2 separate regions of the Homo sapiens genome follow, and region 2 is linked to region 1. Evidence: promoter capture Hi-C in 16 types of primary human blood cells and fetal thymus (Javierre and others, 2016). All regions are on one chromosome and are shown on one strand. Each heading gives the region's core, a stretch centred on a gene start or on the middle of the fragment in contact. The rest is flanking DNA. Distances are from core to core; before and after follow the strand shown.

Region 1 (4,328 bases), core at 1,185-3,684:
AATGAAGAAAATTTGACAGAGAGAGACACAGACACACCACCAGACACCACATCCACATAACTTTTATGACAATATATTGTTATAATTGTTCTATTAGTTATTGCTGTTAATCTCTTACTGTGCCCTATTGTAAGCATGCATATGTAGAAAAAACATACTCCCAGGCGTATTGGCTCACACCTGTAATCCCAGCACTTTGGGAGGCCGAGGCAGGCGGATCACAAGGTCAGGAGATCGAGACCATCCTGGCTAATACGGTGAAACCTCGTCTCTACTAAAAAAATACAAAAAAAATCAGCCAGGCGTGGTGGCGGGCACCTGTATTCCCAGCTACTTGGGAGGCTGAGGCAAGAGAATGGCGTGAACCCGGGAGGTGGAGCTTGCAGTGAGCCGAGATCGTGCCACTGCACTCCAGCCTAGGCGACAGAGCAACACTCCGTCTAAATAAAAAAAAAAAAAATTGTCATCCCTTATTGTACAGATGCGGAAACTGAGGTGGAGGCATTAAGTGACCTGCCCAAAGATACACCACTGACAGCATGATGAGGAGTAGTCAAACCTGGTACTAGGCATGGGAAGACTCTGCTTCTTTTTCGCTCTTTTAAACACCGTTAGGATGGGATGGGTGTGGTGGCTCATGCCTATAGTCCCGGCACTTTGGGAAGCTGAGGGAGGAAGACTGCTTGAGGCCAGGAGTTTGAGACCAGCCTGGGCAACACAGTGAGATGCTATCTACAAATAAAGAAATTAGCTGGGCACGGTGGCACATACCTTCAGTCCCAAGTACTTGGCAATGTACTTAATGTCACTGAACTGTACACTAAATTGCATATTAAAATGGCTAGGCCCTGCGCGGTGGTTCACGCTTGTAATCCTGGCACTTTGGGAGGCTGAGGTGGGAGGATTCTCTTGAGGCTGGAAGGTCCCGATTGCAGCGGCGCTGTGATTATGCCACCGCACTCTAGCCTGGGCAACAGAGCGAGACCCTATCTCTGAAAACAAACAAAACAAAAAAACTATAGGATGAAATATACATAAAATTTACCTTTTTGGCATTTTATTTTATTTTTTCGAAGACAGGGTCTCGCTATGTTGCCCTGACTGGTCTTGAACTCTTGGGCTCAAGTGATCCTCCTGTCTTGGCCTCCCAAAGTACTGGGAAGAGAGGTGTGAGCCACCGCGCAGGGCCTAGCCATTTTAATATGAAGTTTAGTATACAGTTCAGTGGCATCAAGTACATTCACCATGTTGTACCATCACCACCGTCATCTCCAAAACGTTCTCATCCTCCCAAATTGAAGGTCCGTCCCCGATAAACACTCCCCACTCTCCACCCCAGCCTCTGGGTACCACCTGTTTTATTTATTTATTTAATTTTCGTAGAGATGAGGGCTGGCGTGCGGGGGGTGGTGGTGCTATGTTGGCAAGGCTGGTCTCCAACTCCTAAGCTCAAGCGATCTTCCCACCTCAGCCTCCCAAAGTGCTGGGATAACAGGCGTGATCCACTGGGTTGTTTTCTAGGATGATTAAGACATCCCCCAACCAGTGGTTGTCCTCCACTCCGGCAAAAAACAAGATAGAAGCCACATGCACCCAATGCCCGTCCCGTGAGCACCCGCGCAGAGCGAACCGCTCCGGTCCCTCCGGAGTCAGCCTCGAGCTCCACGCGGCGAGGACCCGCCCCCGCCCCCACGTGACCCGCGCTGTCCCGCGCTGAAGGCGGCGGCCTCGGATGGACTGAACCACTGTGAAAGCCCGAATGGGGGGAAACAGGCAGTGACGGCCGCTAGGGAAGGACTGGGGGTAAGCGATTAAAGAAACTTCCATACATTTTTGTATCGCGCCAGGCAGTCGTCCTTCTAGTCGTGTGGGCCCTCTCTGGCTCGCCCCGAATTCCTTTTCTATTTTGAAGTAGTCTGTCCTTTTGCTCAGTCAGTAGGCGAGTCCAAGTGACAGACACGGACAGGGGGGACTTTAGTAACGTAAACTAAACGGTTTCCCTAGCGAAAGGCTCAGACGCCCTGAGCAATCGCCTGTTGAGTCTCCACTCTTCCAGGGTATTAACTGTTGAGTTAGAGGACATTTTCCTAGCATTCCGGGTACTAAAATCATTTCTTGTCCCCGCCTTCAGCTCCACAAATAGTTCAGTCCCGCCCCGCAGCGTCCGACGGGAAAGGAAAGGGGGAGGACGCCATGTTGGACGGAACCATCTGCTGCCACACATGGGGTGGTCAATGCTCCCATGAGTTTACTGATGCACAGAAACAACCTTGCTGAATGGAATTAAGCACTTTCTTGTCACAAATATATCAGTTTGATGATTTTCGGGCGCGGTCTTGTGGATGCGAGTCCTCTCAGGGTCGTTCGTGAGGCCCCAGGGCGTGGGTGCGCCCCCCGCCCCGCGGCCTTGGTGCGGCCTCCCCGTCGCACGCACATGGCTGGGCTGTAGCCGTCGCGGCGCGCGGTGCGGCCTGGGAGAGTCGGAAGCGCGGCGGCCGCGGAGCCCTGCGAGTAGGCAGCGTTGGGCCCATGCAGGACGCGGAGAACGTGGCGGTGCCCGAGGCGGCCGAGGAGCGCGCCGAGCCCGGCCAGCAGCAGCCGGCCGCCGAGCCGCCGCCAGCCGAGGGGCTGCTGCGGCCCGCGGGGCCCGGCGCTCCGGAGGCCGCGGGGACCGAGGCCTCCAGTGAGGAGGTGGGGATCGCGGAGGCCGGGCCGGAGTCCGAGGTGAGGACCGAGCCGGCGGCCGAGGCAGAGGCGGCCTCCGGCCCGTCCGAGTCGCCCTCGCCGCCGGCCGCCGAGGAGCTGCCCGGGTCGCATGCTGAGCCCCCTGTCCCGGCACAGGGCGAGGCCCCAGGAGAGCAGGCTCGGGACGAGCGCTCCGACAGCCGGGCCCAGGCGGTGTCCGAGGACGCGGGAGGAAACGAGGGCAGAGCGGCCGAGGCCGAACCCCGGGCGCTGGAGAACGGCGACGCGGACGAGCCCTCCTTCAGCGACCCCGAGGACTTCGTGGACGACGTGAGCGAGGAAGGTGAGGGCGCCCGGGGCGGGGCTGGCGAGCGGCGCGGGAGCGTGGCTGGGGTTCCCGAGGTGGGAGATATCGTCGGGCTGTGCCACCGGTTCGTGCAGAAGTTCCAGCGAGGGTGTCCGTGTGTTCCTGAGAAGCCACCGAGGGAGGGGTTCCCGAGTGCCCTGGAAGTGTTCTGAGAGCCCAGCGCCTCCCCTTTTCTTTCCTGAAAAAGGGGACAGGGTGGAGCTCACTTCGGGAGCCAGGCATTTGCATGACAACCAGAAATCTGAGAGGGTGGGAGAGGGCACATGGGGTACTCCGTTATGGCTGGGTGTGCTGTGAGTGTAGCAGCTGGGGGTACGGCAAAAACCGAAGACCCGGTGGCAGGTTTGCGGGTCTACGTGTCCCCAGAGCTGACCAGTCAGACCTCCCAAGGTCTGGATCGGAGGAACAGCTTGTGGCAGAGCCGGTGATTTTGTCCTCCTGCCCCTCAGAATTGTCCATCTCCAGAGACTTCCTTAGTGGGACAGGCACCCTGTGAAATTCCAGTTTGATTTTTCTTTATCTCTTGCGCTAAATCTATAAAGAGAGTTATTTTTCCAGGTTTTAATATTGCCGATAACAGCCAGCTTTGCCTTCATCTCAACCTTGATTGGATTTACAGGCATATTTTTGCTTCCTGTCTCAGAGATTTTTTCCTGAAGCTACTTCTGATGAGAGCTGGTCTCATTTGTTTTTCTTTTGTTTTTTAGCTCTCTTAAGCCTTTAAGTTGGGAACACATCAGCCTCTGCAGATTGGCTAAGTTGATACTAGAGTGAGAAAAATAAAAATACCCTTGCTGATGTAGCCAGCGATACACCAGGACAATTTCGGGAATAACATGGAGTTGCCAATTTATGATTTAAACGTATTTTTAAAAGGCTATCAGAGGGCCGGGCTGGGTGGCTCACGCCTGTAATCCCAGCACTTTGGGAGGCCGAGACGGGTGGATCACGAGGTCACCATCCTGGCTAACACGGTGAAACCCCGTCTCTACTAAAAATAAAAAAAAATTAGCCGGGCGTGGTGGCGGGCACCTGGATTTCCCAGCTACTCTGGAGGCTGAGGCAGGAGAATGGTGTGAACCTGGGAGGCGGAGCTTGCAGTGAGCCGAGATCCTGCCACTGCACTCCATCCTGGGCGACAGAGCAAGACTCCGTCTCAAAAAAAAAAAAAAAAGAAAAAGAAAAAAAGGTTATCAGAAATACAAGTCAGCCAGGTGTGCTGGTGCACACCTGTAGTCTCAGGTACTTGGGAGGCTGAGGCACGAGAATCACTTTA
Region 2 (4,328 bases), core at 554-3,053, 800 kb before region 1:
CCACAGCCTTCCTGGGCTCCCAGCACCCCCTGAAAGCCACCTCACCGCACTGGGGTCAAGGGCTCTGGACAAATCCCTGCAGCCGTGTGGCCCTCGCGGGCCTACACACGCACTCCCACCCCACCCCTGCGCACACCGCCCTGGCCTCTCTGTGTATCTGAGTCTCTCAGGAGGGTCCTGTCCCTGACTCCCTGCCCTCTCTGCCCAGCCCCTGCCCTCGGGCACCACTTCCTCCTTGCCCCTGCCTGGCCCTTCCTTGCCACAGCGCCTGGCCGCTTCTCTACCTGGGGGCTGTTCTGTTCCCACCTGGGGACTGCTCCGGGTCGGGGGCTGTGTGTGGCTTCGGGCTTGGGGAAGTTGCTTCTCGCCCATCTCCTGCACAGGAGTCCCGGTCCCTCTAACAAGCTGTGACCTTTGCTCCCCAGCTCCCTACAGAGCAAAGTCCAACCCCCTGCCAACCTCCCACCAGCCTTCTCCAGGGTGTCACGCCTCTGGAAGGAGAAGGCCCCTTCCCCTTTCCAGCTATGTGAGCCTGGGAAAGACCTCTGGTCTCTCTGAGACTCAGTCTTCTTGTCTGTGAAATGGGACCACACTGCAGACCTCAGTGAGCCGAGTGACGAGCCTGTGAAATAGCCAGGGGTGCCCGGTGGGCGCTCTGCCCTCAGCCTGGCAGAGATCTCCCCATTTTCAGGCCCAGCTCCCACATGCCACATCCTGGGGAAGCTCATCCCCTCCCCCGTGCCCTGGCCGATCCCACTTCTGACAGCGTCTATAGCAGCGGCACCCAGGGGGACCGGGCTGAGCCACGGCCACGTCCTGTGGAGACCAAGGTCCTGAAGGAGGCTCGGGGGCGGAAGGGCTTACCTGGTGGCAGGTGAGCACCAGGGCAGTCCACACGAAGATCCCCGAGACGCCTCGGGCCAGTGCGGAGGTGAGGAAGAGCCAGGGGGCCCCCTGGGAGCTGTTCCCCATGTGGTCCATCTGCGGCCCAGCTGGCACAGCCGGTGGGGGGCTGGGCTGCGGCCAGTTCGCTGACACCAGGGGGACGCCGGCTGTCTCCAGGATCCCTGAGACATTACTCATCTGCAGAGGGAGGGAGGACACACACCGGGAGGAGTGAGGGCAAAGGTACTGGCTCCCGGCAGCAGGAAGCAGCGGGGGAGGGAGGAGACAGTGAGACGGGAGCTGAGGCTGAGCCACCCACCAGGCCGCACCCCCCACACGGACACCAGCGCCAGGCCCGGCTCCCTCCCTGCTCCGAGCTCAGCCATCGAAGCTCACCCATCAACCACCTGCGACCTGAGGGTCCCACCTCAATTCCCCCTTGTAAAACCAGCTTCCAACTCCGAGTCTCAGGCTTGCAGGGAGCCTGCTTCTTAGGGGACAAAGACCGTCTTCCAGTGGGGCAGAAGAGGGGGAACCCCTGCCGCCCTGCCTGCCCGGGAGGGCTGGGGAGCGGGCGCAGACCAGCACTGCCTGCCCCGGCAGGAGGGGGTGTGCAGCCACCCTCATGGGAGGAGCCGGCCCTCACTGGCTCTGGGACCTGTCCACCCACCTGGGAGCCCGGCTTTGCTGGGGTTCTTGGCAGCCCTGGGTGCCTGTTCCATCTCCCACTAACCTGCTGGGGCCCTGAGTCCACCCTCTCCCACACTCGCAGCCCAGTCCAGCCTCCTCCTCTCCCTCTGGTCTGCGGTCACAGGGCCCAGCTCTACCTTTGCTGGCAGGAAGCACCTGGCCCAGTCCAGGGAGGCCTGGCCTCCAGGGAAGCCTAGCTGGTCATTCTCATGGCCACGTGGCCCCAACTGGAGGCCCCACTGTGGGTGCGGCAAGGCCAGGATCTGAAGGGCTGTGCCAGGCTGGGGCGGGGCGGCCAGTGCCTCACGTCCCCAGTGGCCCACCTGGGCCCCAGGCTGCAGGCCCGTCCCCTCCTGTCCCCTCCCACGGCTGACACCCTATCCTCCCGGTTGTTTGCTGGGTGGCAGCTGGCTCCCAGGAACCTGCTGGCCGCCTGGCGCCCTCACCTGCCTATGCCAGACGGCCAGGCAGCTGCCACCTGGTGGGGACACGTGGGAGAGGTCTGCGGCAGGCCAAGGAGGGCCGGGCTGCAGGAGGAGGGGTGGAGAGCTAATGGTACAGGGTTTCTCTGGGGGGTGACAGGAGTCCTGAAATGAGGTAGAGGCGGCAGGCACACAGCACTGTGGATATACTTACCGCCACCGAATCGTTCACTTAAACCTGGGTAAATTGATGTTATGTGAATTTCATCTGAATTAAAAAAAAAATCCACGCCCCAAGAGATGAGTTGAAAACATTTGTTTTCTGGGCCGGGCGTGGTGGCTCACGCCTGTCATCCCCACACTTTGGGAGGCCAAGGTGGGTGGATCACTTGAGGTCAGGAGTTCGAGACCAGCCTGGCCAACATGGTGAAACGCCGTCTCTACGAAATACGCAAAAATTAGCTAGGTGTGGCAGCGTGCACCTGTAATTCCAGATACTCAAGAGGCTGAGACAGGAGAATCGCTTGAACTCAGAAGGCGGAGGTTGCAGTAAGCTGAGATCACACCACTGCACTCCAGCCTGGGGACAGAGGGAGACTCTGTGTCCAAAAAAAAAAAAAAAAAAAAAAGGAAATATTTCTGGTTTTTGTGGATCAAGGCAGGAGAGGGGGAGTGACAGCCCAGTCCCTGGACCCTTTGGGGTCTGGCAAGGGGTTGCGGGGCCCTGAGGGTCCCTGTCACCCCCATGCAGAGGCCCCTGTGGAGAAAAAACTCACTCACCCCGGCTCCTGGGAGAGGGATGTGGGCCCTCAGCCCACCTCTTGTCCTGTTCTGGTTACGCTTGGGCTCATGCCGCTGGGGCCACCATTACCAAGTCCCGCTCCATGCCCGCAACGGATCCACACACTCCTTGTCCTTCATATCTCCTACCCTCCCACAGCCCTGAGCAACAGGGCTCAAGGGGTTGAGGCTGGAATGACTGGAGCCACTGTTCCCCTTTTATTTTTAATTAATTTATTTTTTGAGACGGAGCCTCGCTCTGTCGCCAGGCTGGAGTACAATGGCGCGATCTCGGCTCACTGCAACCTCCGCCTCCTGGGTTCAAGTGATTCTCCTGCCTCAGCCTCCCGAGTAGCTGGGATTACAGGCGCCCACCACCACACCTAGCTAATTTTTGTATTTTTAGTAAAGACGGGGTTTCACCACGTTGGCCAGGCTGGGCTTGAACTCCTGACCTCAGGTGATCTGCCCGCCTCAGCCTCCCAAAGTGCTGGGATTACAGGTTTGAGCCACCACGTCCGGCCTGTTCCCCTTTTAGAGATGGGAACGAGAGGCGCATCAACGCGTCCAGCATCCTTGAGGGGTCCGTGAGGGGCCCGGGCTGAGGCCCATCCTTCCCTGGGACACCCTGCCTGCTTTTCCCAACTCCTCCACTGACACTGTCCCTCCAGGGAGGCTCCCAGGTGGGGAACAAGCTCAGGAAGTCGTGCCCAGCTCTCAGGCCCGCCTTGCCTAACCTCCCCATCAGCGCCCACCCGGGCCCGGGCCCAGAGCCACAGCATGCACACCCTGGCTGGGCCCTCCTGGAGCCTGCCTGCTCCCCAGGCAGGGACCTTCTGGACCAACCGACCCTGCTCCCGGGTGACTCTGTCCTGCAGCCTCAGGCGTCACCTCTGGAGAGACCATCCCCGCTGTCCCATCACCCTCCTCACTGTGTGTGTGACTCCCTGTCCACCTGTCTGTGTTTGCTGCTGGTCCTCCCTCTGCAGGAGCTGCCAGAGCCTAGAGCTGTGCCCTGTCCATGCTCGGGGCACAGGGCTTGCGGGGTGGGGGCTGTCCTGCTGAGGCGGTGACCCTGTGGGCTAAGGTCTCCCTTTGGCCAGGCAGGGGTGCTGGAAGGCGGTCCCCAACTTCCATCCAGCTGCATTCCCACTGCAGCCACAGGTACTCCTGCCGGCCTCCCACCCGGCCTGCAGAGCCCCAGGCAGTCGGCTCAGCGCGTGTGGATGTCGCCCTCTGGCTGTGTCGGGATCACCGTCACGGACAACTATGAAGTGACGATGGCTGGGGGCCCGTTTGAAGGGTGAAGACTTTGGTGCCTGGGCATGCGCAGAGCTGGAAGGGACCGGGAATCCCCTCATCCAACTCGCTCATGCTACAGGCAGGGAAACTGAGGCCCCAGCCCCTGCTTGATTTGCGTCCAGCCCCCAGCACAGGATGAAGCCTCGGGCCCCTCCCTGGGCTGACGGTGGGAATGGCTGTGCAGACAGCAGGAGGCACTGTGGCTAGATGTCAGCAGGACCGTTTTGGCTGGAGCCAGCAGAGCCAGGC

The links. Contacts are between HindIII fragments. The CHiCAGO score rates a contact against its expected background, and 5 or more counts as called.
Region 2: a contact is called between the fragment with the promoter of TMEM184A here and the fragment with the promoter of EIF3B in region 1, in 3 of 17 cell types (non-activated CD4 T cells, naive CD4 T cells and naive CD8 T cells). The highest score is 7.5, in non-activated CD4 T cells.

Annotation. Positions count from the first base shown.
Region 1 is chr7:2,352,393-2,356,720 of GRCh38, forward strand. It overlaps EIF3B (eukaryotic translation initiation factor 3 subunit B), which reads left to right and starts at 2,435. Exons shown (of 19, transcript NM_001037283.2): 1 at 2,435-3,028. The coding sequence starts at 2,530. It also overlaps a transcript of SNX8 not described here. RefSeq lists enhancers at 1,226-1,781, 1,452-1,521 and silencers at 2,322-2,461, 2,642-2,731, 2,782-2,891. The HindIII fragment of the contact is 9,918 bases long and covers 1-4,328 here.
Region 2 is chr7:1,554,402-1,558,729 of GRCh38, forward strand. It overlaps TMEM184A (transmembrane protein 184A), which reads right to left and starts at 1,804. Exons shown (of 9, transcript NM_001097620.2): 1 at 1,713-1,804; 2 at 865-1,083. The coding sequence starts at 1,083. RefSeq lists silencers at 330-512, 1,880-1,949, 1,990-2,079 and enhancers at 622-1,422, 992-1,286, 1,423-2,222. The HindIII fragment of the contact is 30,451 bases long and covers 1-4,328 here.